2 separate regions of the Homo sapiens genome follow, and region 1 is linked to region 2. Evidence: promoter capture Hi-C in human tissues and cell types (Jung and others, 2019). All regions are on one chromosome and are shown on one strand. The core of a region is centred on a gene start or on the middle of the fragment in contact, and the rest is flanking DNA. Distances in the headings are between cores, read along the strand shown.

Region 1 (4,852 bases), core at 1,083-3,582, 52 kb after region 2:
TCATGCTTTGGAAGGCATTCCCCCTTCTGAGATGAGGTAAATGGTCACCTCTATTTTTTCCTAGGTGTTTATGATTTTATTTTTTCCTGGGTGTTTATGATTTTATTTTTTCACATTTAATTCTGCATCCACATGAGTTTATTTTTGTGCCCAGTACAAATAGGGATCTAATTCATTTTTTTCCCTAATATGTAGCTGATTGGTTTAGCACTACTTATTGAATAATCCATCTGTTTCCCCAATGACTTGAGTTGCTTCAGCTTATATTAAAAACATATGTGTATTTGGGCCTGCTTAGGGACTTTCCATTGAATCCATCGTTTTATTAGCCTTTCCAAATCACTCTGTCTATGCTATTGTAAAATTATGTTTTAATATCTGGCAGTTAAGTTTCTCTTTTTTTTCAAAGTCTTCATGCTTCTTTTCTTTGCATATATCACATCACTAGATGAACCTTAACAGTTTCATCAGATTCTCTCCTCTTCCTACTCCCCATGCCCCCTAAAAAATCTCTTGAGATTTTATGGAGTCCTGTCATATGTAAAGTTAACGTAATGGGGAATTTTCATACTGAACTCCCCACATAGGAACATGGAATGTTTCTAAATTAATTCAAATAATTTTGAAGTTATCTTTAAATAGATTCCACTTTAAATTTTAAAAACCTTTGGTATTATTTTCAGTGGGATCTTTTCTTATTCTGTCTTCTAACTCAGTATTGTTGGTAAATGGCTGTTTCTGCATTTTCTTTTGTAATCTGTCAGTTTACTGAGTCCTTTAGTATAGGTTTGCAGTAGTTTCTTTTGAGTTTGCTTGGTAGACTTTTTTTTTTTTTGAGATGGAGTCTCACTCTGTCACCCAGGCTGGAGTACAGTGGCATGATCTTGGCTCACTGCAATCTCCACCTCCTGGGTTCAAGCGATTCTCGTGCCTCAGACTACTGAGTAGCTGGGATTACAGGCGCCCAACACCATGCCTAATTTTTGTATTTTTGGTAGAGACGGGGTTTCATCATTAAGGCCAGGCTGGTCTCAAACTCCTGACCTCAGGCGATTTGCCTGCCTCGGCCTCCCAAAGTGCTGGGATTACAGACGTGAGTCACTGCGCCCAGCCTGCTTGGTAGACTTTTATGTGGGTTGTGACACTGATAATTTTGTTAATCCTAAGAGATAATTATATTTCTATTTTGTGTTAGTTGCTTTGCATAAAACTTTCTGTTTTAGTGGTGATAGAGAAATGCCCTCTAGTAAATAACTTCTAGGTGTAAGGCTGGGTATTAGTAACCTTTTTGCTTTCTTCTTCTTTTTTTATTTTATTTTTTGGCACCTTTCTGACTGGGAATCTTTTTGATTTATTAATCATTGCAGGTTAAAAAAAAAGTCAGGAAGGATGTTGAGTTTTTTTTTGAGACAGGATCTTGCTTTGTTGCCCAGGCTGGAGTGCAGTGGCATGATTACCACTCACTGTGGCCTCTACCTCCCAGGCTCAAGCAATCCTCCCATCTCAGTCTCTGGAGTAGCTGGGACTATAGGTGTGTTACTAATTTAATTTTTTTTCTTTTTTTTTTTTTTTAGAGATGGTATCTCACTATGTTGCCCAGGTTGGGTGTTGACTTTGTATCAAATATCTATTAAGCAGCCATTGGAATGATTATATGATTTTTCTTCTTTAAATTACTATATTAATTTCTACAACTGGGCACAGTGGCTCATACCTGTAATCTCAGCACTTTGAGAGGCTGAAGCAGAAGGATCACTTGAGGCCAGTAGTTTGAGACCAGACAGGGAAACATAGCAAGACCCTGTCTCTACTAAAAATTAAAAAAAAAATTAGCCAGGTGTGATGGTGTACGCCTGTAGTCCCACCTACTTGGGTGACTGAGGCAGGAGGATCACTTGAGTCCAGGATTCTGAGGCTGCAGTGAGCTATGATTGTGCCAGTGCACTCTAGGCTGGACAGCAGAGTGAGACCCTGTCTCTAGAAAAGATTTTTAAAAATCTATTATATGAATTTCCTAATAGTAATTATCTTAGAATTTCTAGAATATACCTAGTTGCTCAAGATAGACTATTCCTTGAAAATTTTGTTAGAATTGTTTGTTAATATTTTATATTGGGGTTTTCCATCTATATTCGTTAGTGGTAATTTGTCTGTAGCTTTGGTCTATTTTTGTCAGCTTTGGAATCAAGGCCAAGCTAATTTTATAAAGTAAATTGATGTGCTTTCCAACTTTGGGAACAGTCTCTATAACATGGGAATTATCTGTTCCATGAGTGCAGCAAAGAGCTCACCCATAAAACCAACTGGGTCTGGCATCTTGCTTTGAAATAATTCTTTGATGACTTTTTTTTTCAGTTTTCCCCCCCATAATTACTGGTTTGTTCAGCTTCTTTGTTTCGTCTTGACTCAATTTTGTTAACTCATTTTTTTCTGAGAAAATCGGTTCATGAGATTTTCAAATTTATTAGAATAAGGGTTTTAAATATCATTCTCAGTTTAAAAACGTCTGTAATATTTTTTACTTTAAATTTTTGCTATTTGTGTGTTTCCCCAGTTTTTTTCTTGACTAACTTAAACATTTTTGTTTTTCATTTTTGCTTTTAAATTTACTTTTCATAGAACAACTTCTTGGATTTGTCAGATACCATATTTTGTAATATTAATTTCTGTCTTTAGCTTTATTAACTTTTCTACTATTTGCCCTAGATCTGTTTTATTTATTTATTTATTTATTCATTCATTCATTCATTCATTCATTCATTCATTCATTTATAGCTTTTCAGGTTGAAAGCTTACTGCATTTATCTTTGTCTTTTTTTTTTTGAGATGGAGTTTATCTCTTTTTGCCCAGGATGGAGTGCAATGGCATGATCTTGGCTCACTGCAACCTCTGCCTCCTGGTTTCAAGTGATTCTCCTGCCTTAGCCTCCCAAATAGCTGGTAGCTGGGGTTACAGGCACACGTCACCATGCCCGGCTAATTTTGTATTTTTAGTAGAGATGGGGTTTCACCATGTTGGCTGGGCTAATCTTGAACTCCTGACCTCAGGTGATCCACCTGCCTCAGTCTCCCATACTGCCGGGATTACAGGCGTGAGCCACCGTGCCTGGCCTATCCTTGTCTATTTTTGTTTAATAATGAAAACATGTTTGCTTTGTACTTGTCTTTGAATTTTCACCCCTGGATATTGAATTTTTTTTCTTTCAATGTAGCATTGAAAACTCATCTCTACAAAGATTTAAAAAAATTAGCTAGGTGTGGTGGTGTGTGCCTCTGGTCCCAGCTACTCGGGAGGCTGAGTCGGGAGGATTGCTTGAGCCCAGGAGGCTGAGGCTGCAGCGAGTTGTTATTGTGATACTCCACTCCTGCCTGGGTGACAGAGCAAGACCCTTTCTCCAAAAAAAAAAAAAAAAAAAAAAAAAGAAAAGAAAAAGGAAAATGAAAGGGCAGCCAGGTGCAGTAGCTTATGTCTGTAATCCTAGCACTTTGGGAGGCTGAGGTGGTAGGATTGCTTGAGCTCAGGAATTTGAGACCAGTCTGGGCAACATAGTGAGACCCTGTTTCTACAAAAAAGAAATTTAAAAAAATTAGCCAGGTGTGGTGTTGCACACCTGTAGTCCCAGCTACTTGAGAGGCAGTGGTGGGAGGATTGCTTCAGTCTGGGAGATAGAGGCTGCAGTAAGCTGTAATCATGCTGCACTCCAGCCTGGGTGACAGAGCAAAACCCTATCTCAAACAAACAAACAAAACAAAAAACATTCTTAGTGTTACAACTTGAATATGTACATGTGTCCACAGCTGCGTAATCATCACCCACATCAAGACATAGCATATTTCTAGCATCCCCAGAAGTTTCCCATTGTCCCTTCTAGTTAATTTCTCCTCCCTGAAATAACCACTATTCTGACTTCTATCACTATTGTTCAGCTTTGCCTAGTATTGAATTTCATATTAGTGAGAACATGCAGTATGTTTTCTTGTGCCTGGCTTTTCATTTTATATCTTTGAGATTAAAGATATATGACCTTTTTTTGCATGTGTCAATAGTCTTTTTTTTTTTTAATAGAGATGGGATCTCGCTATATTGCCCAGGCTGGTCTCAAGTGATCCTCCCACTTTGGTCTCCAAAAATGCTGGGATTACAGGCATGAGCCACCATGCCTGGCCTGTCTTTTATTTTTATTTTTATTTTTTTTGAGATGGAGTTTCACTCTTGTCGCCCAGGCTGGGGTGCAATGGTGCAATCTTGGCTCACTGCAACCTCCACCTCCCAGGTTCAAGCAGTTCTCCTGCTTCAGCCTCCTGAATAGTTGACATTACAGGCACCTGCCACCATGCGTGGCTAATTTTTGTATTTTCAGCAGAGACAGGGTTTCGCCATGTTGGCCAGGCTGGTCTTGAACTCCTGACCTCAGGTGGTCTGCCTGCCTCGGCCTCCCAAAGTGTTGGGATTACAGGCGTGAGCCACTGCGCCCGGCCATGGCCTGTCTTTGTATTTGGGTGTAGTGTTCTGTTTTATGAATACACCATAATTTATTTCTCCATTCTCCTATTGGTAGACATTTGAGTTGTTTCCAGTTTTTGGCCATCATGAACAACGCTGACATAAACACTCTCAGGACATGTATTTTGAAGGACACACACATACATTTCTATTGCGTATGTACAGATCTAGGAGCTTTGGTTCATAGGGTGGATGTATGCTTACCTTTAGTAGACACCATCAGTTTTCTAGTGTTGTACCAATTTGCCATCCCATAAATTTTACTGTGCTCTGATCGTTTGTAATTACTGTTGTGATTTTATCTTCAAACCCAGAGTTATTTAAGTGGATGTTTTCCAGTGGTTATAT
Region 2 (5,287 bases), core at 700-3,199:
TACAGGAGGCTGAGGTGGGTAGATCACTTGAGGTCAGGAGTTCCAGACCAGCCTGGCCAACATGGTGAAACCCCTTGTCTCCTAAAAATACAAAAGTTAGCCAGGTGTGGTGGCGTGTGCCTGTAGTCCCAGCTACTGGGGAGGCTGAGGCAGAAGAATTGCTGGAACCCAGGAGGTGGAGGCTGCAGTGAGCCAAGATCGTGCCACTGCACTCCAGGCTAGGCAACACAGCCAGACTCCATCTCAAAAAAAAAAAAGTTTCAGATTTAGGAGCATTCTGGATTTCAGATTCAGTATGCTCAACTTGTAATTGTAGTAGTCTATGAGGAAACAAAAAGCATGTGCTTAATGCATAATACATGTCAGACTGCTGTTATTCTCCAGAGTCATCCATAATAAACACTTAAAATTTCCTGAAATTAACAGAAAGATGTCTCCTGCTACCCTGGTACAAGGAACACTAGGTATATTGCTCTTATTTCCTAAAAAACAGACATTAGCAGCAACGAAAATTTACTGTGCACTTACTGTGTACTAGGCACTGCATTAAAAGCTTTATGTGTTAATGCATTTCATCCTTTGCCATTCTTCAAAAGTACTATTAGTATTTCCTCGGAAAGATTTAGTAAGTTGGCAAAGATCACAGAGCTACTAAGTTGGTGGAGAAAATCGTAGAAATCACAAACAGAGGAGGTAACATCATCTCCACTATCAGCCTCTAACCTCTAAAACACTTCCAACCACTGAGGGGCCTTTCCTGGGTATCACCTTGATTCCCAACAAGAGAACAACGCTGACTCCTAAGCCAAGAGACAATTCTTTAATTTTCTTTATTTCTTATTTTTTTTGAGACAGAGTCTCGCTCTGTCGCCCAGGCTGGAGTGCAGTGGTACGATCTCGGCTCACTGCAACCTCCACCTCCAGGTTCAAGCAATTCTCCTGCCTCAGCCTCCCAAGTAGCTGGGATTACAGGAGCACACCACCACGCCCAGCTAATTTTGTATTTTTAGTAGAGGCAGGGTTTCACCATGTTGGTCAGGCTGGTCTCAAACTCCTGACCTCAGGTGATGCGCCCGCCTCGGTCTCCCAGTGCTGGGATTACAGGCCGTAAGCCACCGCGCCCAGCTTAATTTTCTTTCACATTTAATACAATGCAAAGCATTCCCTTTTTAAAGCTCTGCCAGGTGCAGATCTTTGTATCCAGTCATCAGCCCAATCTACTGAAAAGAAATGGACGAGAGTAATAGCAAGAGATCCAAACTCTTATTTTAAATCCAAATAAATTTATTGCTTGTCTGCAAAGTGCTTGACACTGAGCTGACTGCCATATTCCTCAGTTCATGCTCACAGCAACCTTGGAGACAGATACAATTATTATTCCCATTTTGCGGATGAGGTAAACGAGGCCCAAATTTGAATGCTATGCCCGAGAGCATACAGCTAGTTACTGGAGGACTCCAGACCCAGGAAGCCTCTCTCCTACCACAATCTCCTAGAAAGTGCTGGCTCTAAATCTACTGCTCTGATAAGGCAGCTAGACCCCAACTCGCACCCAACTGGGTGCCATCTGCGCCCTGGACCCCAGCTTCCCGTCAACGCTAGGGCAGAGGCACTCACCCAGCCGCACGTATTCCGGTAAGGGCTCCTTGAACCGCAGCTCGTAGGGCAGGACAGCGAGCCGCCTGCGTGTGGCCTTGTCCCGAATCTCAGTGACCACCTCCCGGATGGTGTAAATGTTCTTCCCGATGTCCTGCGGACAGAACGCCCCAGCTCAGACCCACCCGCACCAAGCAACGCTCCGCGCGACTCCACGCACTCCGGGAGGGGCGGCCAGCCCAGATCTCTCTCGTCCCGGAGGGAGCTCCCCGTACCTGCAGAGCCGCATGCCGCAGGAAAGCCCCAGCATCCGCCACAACGTGCTCCACTGGAGCCATGTTGGCTGCGTGAGAGGGGAGCGCGCATGCGCACGGAGCTTGCGCCGGCTCCTATGTCCAAGTCTGGGCCTCTGGGAACCAGGAAGAGCAGCCGCGACTTAGCTGCGCCTCCTGGCGGCCGCGCCAGCACCTCCCTGCTCTACTCGCGCGCATGCGCAGCGACGCCGCCCGCATAGCCAGAGAAGTGTGGGCGGGGTCAAACCTTGGGGGACACCTGGGAAATCGGCTTCAGCATCTAGACCTTAGTGCCTTCTTCACCTTTGAAGATAAAACCTGCCAGGTGTAGTGGTGCGCGCCTAGAGTCCCAGCTATTAAGGAGGCTGAGGCGAAAGGATTGCCTGAGCCCTGGAATGTGAAACCAGCCTGGGCAACATAGAGAGACCCCCATCTCTTCAATAAATAAATAAATTTAAAACCTGTATATATTCTTATGGTTAAAAGTCAATCAATACAGATTACCTAATTTCGTTATCACAGCACCCCTATGAGATAGGTACTGTTTTTTTTTAAAGGCTTAAAATGTATTTTAATAGGTCGATGCTGCATTACTGCTCCAGTTCTCAGAAAAACTCCAAATATATCAGAGACAAATCAAATACAATACACCAATGGAAAAAAAAGGCACAGCATGACTACCTAAGATAGGCGAGTCTAAGAGCTACTGTCAGACCTTCAGTATACAGTAACCCTGTTCCCAAGATTGTACTAGGCCTATCAAGAAAAGCTGTGAACAGCAGTATCATAGACACAAAAGGGTCATTCCTGGGTGTCCTCACCCAAGAAAAAGATGGAGGCAAGTTAACACAAGATTTTTTTTTAAAGATATACTAAAATGAAAATCTCTAAGAGAAAATGTCTTCTTTAGGACATGAAGGGGTAATATATGGGATATAATAGAACCGTATGTACGTTGCCTGTGACCTTTGTGGACGTTTACCTGAATTCTCACCTGGGAGTGAATGGAGCAATGCGGCTAAGGTCATTGGGGGATGTTTGGTTTTTGTGGTGTATGTGGCAGTTTCTCTGGGACTGGGGGAGTGTAAGGATAAGAAAGCAAGTGAGGTTGGGCACGGTGGCTCACCCCTGTAATCCCAGCATTTTGGGAGGCTGAGGCAGGGGATCACGAGGTCAGGAGTTCAAGATCAGCCTGGACAAGCTTGAACCCGAGAGGCAGAGATTGCAGTGAGCCGAGATCGTGCCACTACACTCCAGCCTGGGCGACAGAGTAAGACTCCATCTCGGGGGCAGGGCAAGCAAATGAAACAAGATGGACAAAAAAAAAAAAAAAAAAAAACAACAAACAAACCAAAAAAACAGAATGATCAAGATTAATGGGCTCTAACTGGATCTACTTTGCCATGGTTTCCCCAGGCCCTCAACAATCACATTTGAGACTTCAGGAATGCACCACACAGAACTGATTAAATAATATACTACATAGAATTGACTTGTTTAATACCACCCCTCCCTTGTCCTCTGCCTCCAGCATACTCCCTAGAGTAGTACAGGCAGGGTAGATCTAACTATTGGAAGGAATCCCTAACACTTTTCCAGGGTAGAATTCTGGCTGGTCCAAAAAGGGTCCTTCTTTTAAGGGTTTTGAGAAACTAGACACTGCAACTTATTAGTATCGGCGACGTTTGTTTGGAGCAAATTCAGCTCCAGGAGCTGCATGGTTGAATGCAGGAGGAGTTTCACCAATTGCCCCAATTCCTTCCATTGTAGCAGCCTGACCAAAGCGTTCAGTTGTTGGTGGGGTCAATCCCAAAGTTCCATCCGGCATCATAGTGGCAGGTCCTGGAGGAGCTGGGGTACCAGCTGGCACAGGAGCAGGGGTCAAGGCACCTCTGCTGTTTATGCCCATAGCACCTCCCATAGCCATCTGACCCATCCAAATCTCCTGCTCTCTCACATCAGGGAAGGTTCCCTTGAATCCTTCCTGCTGTGGCTGCATCATTTCTTCTTGCTGCCGCCGCATCTCTTCTTCAGGGCGCCTGCGCTCTTCCTCCTGCCTGAGCTCCAGTTGCTTTCGTTTTTGCACCTCTTGGTTGTGCAGCTCTTCCATCCTCCGAAGTTCTTCTTGGCGCCTCATCAAATTCTGTCTCATTAGCATGACCTGGTGCTTATGGCGTGCAGCCTCCATCTCCATCTCTGGCTTCTCACGAGCCTCTTTGATGTTGCGGTCCACTTGGTCCTGCTGCTGCTTCTCCATCTCAATGAGTGCCTTCCAGCGCATGGCATATTCATACTCAAAGGAGCCAGGCTGTGCAAATCTGGGTGGTTGCTCTCGTTCCTTGTGAAATTGCTGGTTTTTTATAACCAGCTTCTCTGGAAGTCCCCCTTCATCATCTAACTGGTCCATGGGCTCCATAGTCACAGGACGAGGAAATGTGGTTAGCAGGAAGGAGCCTTCACTGCGTCTGTCCAGAGCTTTCCCAGCAGCTGGCTTCCCTGAGAACTCAACAATGCCTTTTCCTGAGGGCCTTCCTCGATCATCCACAATGACTACAGCCCTCTCTACCTGGCCAAACACAGAAAAGGCTTCTTCCAGCACTTCGTTGGACACATACTGAGGAAGGTTTCGAACTGTAAGGGATGCACTATGGCAGGAAAAGCGCACACGCAGCTGCTTTCCACAGAGTGGCATATTGTCCAGCTCCACTTTCGCAATCTCCGCTAGGGTTCGTGTTTCCAAGCGGATAAAGCCAAATCCTTAATCCTTATGAATGAAGACTTCGCCTGCCTTTCCATATTTCTCAAATAGTTTCCTCATTTCTTCCTCAGTGATGTCGGGAGGAAGATTTCCCACAAAAAGACGGCTTCGTTGGGTGAAGGTCTTCTCTCCTGGTTTTCTAAAATTCTTCAGGCCAAATAGTCAAAGCCTTCATTTTGGCTGCTGGCCTGTTGCCCATTTGCAGGTATTGGCGGTGGTGGCGGCTGCAGCTGTTGCTGCTGGTGGTGATGTTGATGATGCTTTCTTGGAGTATGGTTTTGCTTCTCCAAGTTAAAAGTTTTATTACTCTGCATTTTTGCACCCTCAACTTCGATTGAAGACAGCAAAGTGCCTCCCACTTCCCTCTAACCTGGACTTCTCCTCTACCGACTGGTCTCTCCTCGGAGTAACGGCGACGCTACACGGCCTCTCCCGTCCCGAGAAAAGCTTTTTTTTGTTTTGTTTTGTTTTGAGACGGAGTCTTGCTCTGTCGCCCAGTCTGGAGTGCAGTGGCGCGATCTCAACTCACTGCAAGCTCCCCCTCCCGGGTTCACGCCATTCCCCTGCCTCGGCCACCCAAGTAGCTGGGACTACAGGCGCCCGCCACCATGCCCGACTTTTTTTGTATTTTTAGTAGAGA

What was found. The method cuts DNA at HindIII sites, captures the fragments that hold promoters and counts their contacts. A contact is called where the count stands out against the background at its distance.
Region 1: a contact is called between a fragment that was not itself captured here and the fragment with the promoter of NOB1 in region 2, in 1 of the 25 tissues and cell types used here (mesendoderm cells).

Annotation. Positions count from the first base shown.
Region 1 is chr16:69,804,223-69,809,074 of GRCh38, forward strand. All of the region lies in intron 4 of WWP2 (WW domain containing E3 ubiquitin protein ligase 2), which reads left to right. Among named protein-coding and RNA genes, the nearest start is that of WWP2, 44 kb to the left of the region's middle. The HindIII fragment of the contact is 3,377 bases long and covers 645-4,021 here.
Region 2 is chr16:69,752,977-69,758,263 of GRCh38, forward strand. It overlaps NOB1 (NIN1 (RPN12) binding protein 1 homolog), which reads right to left and starts at 1,950. Exons shown (of 9, transcript NM_014062.3): 1 at 1,872-1,950; 2 at 1,618-1,750. The coding sequence starts at 1,934. It also overlaps the pseudogene NONOP1. RefSeq lists enhancers at 996-1,619, 1,620-2,242. The HindIII fragment of the contact is 4,198 bases long and covers 1-4,092 here.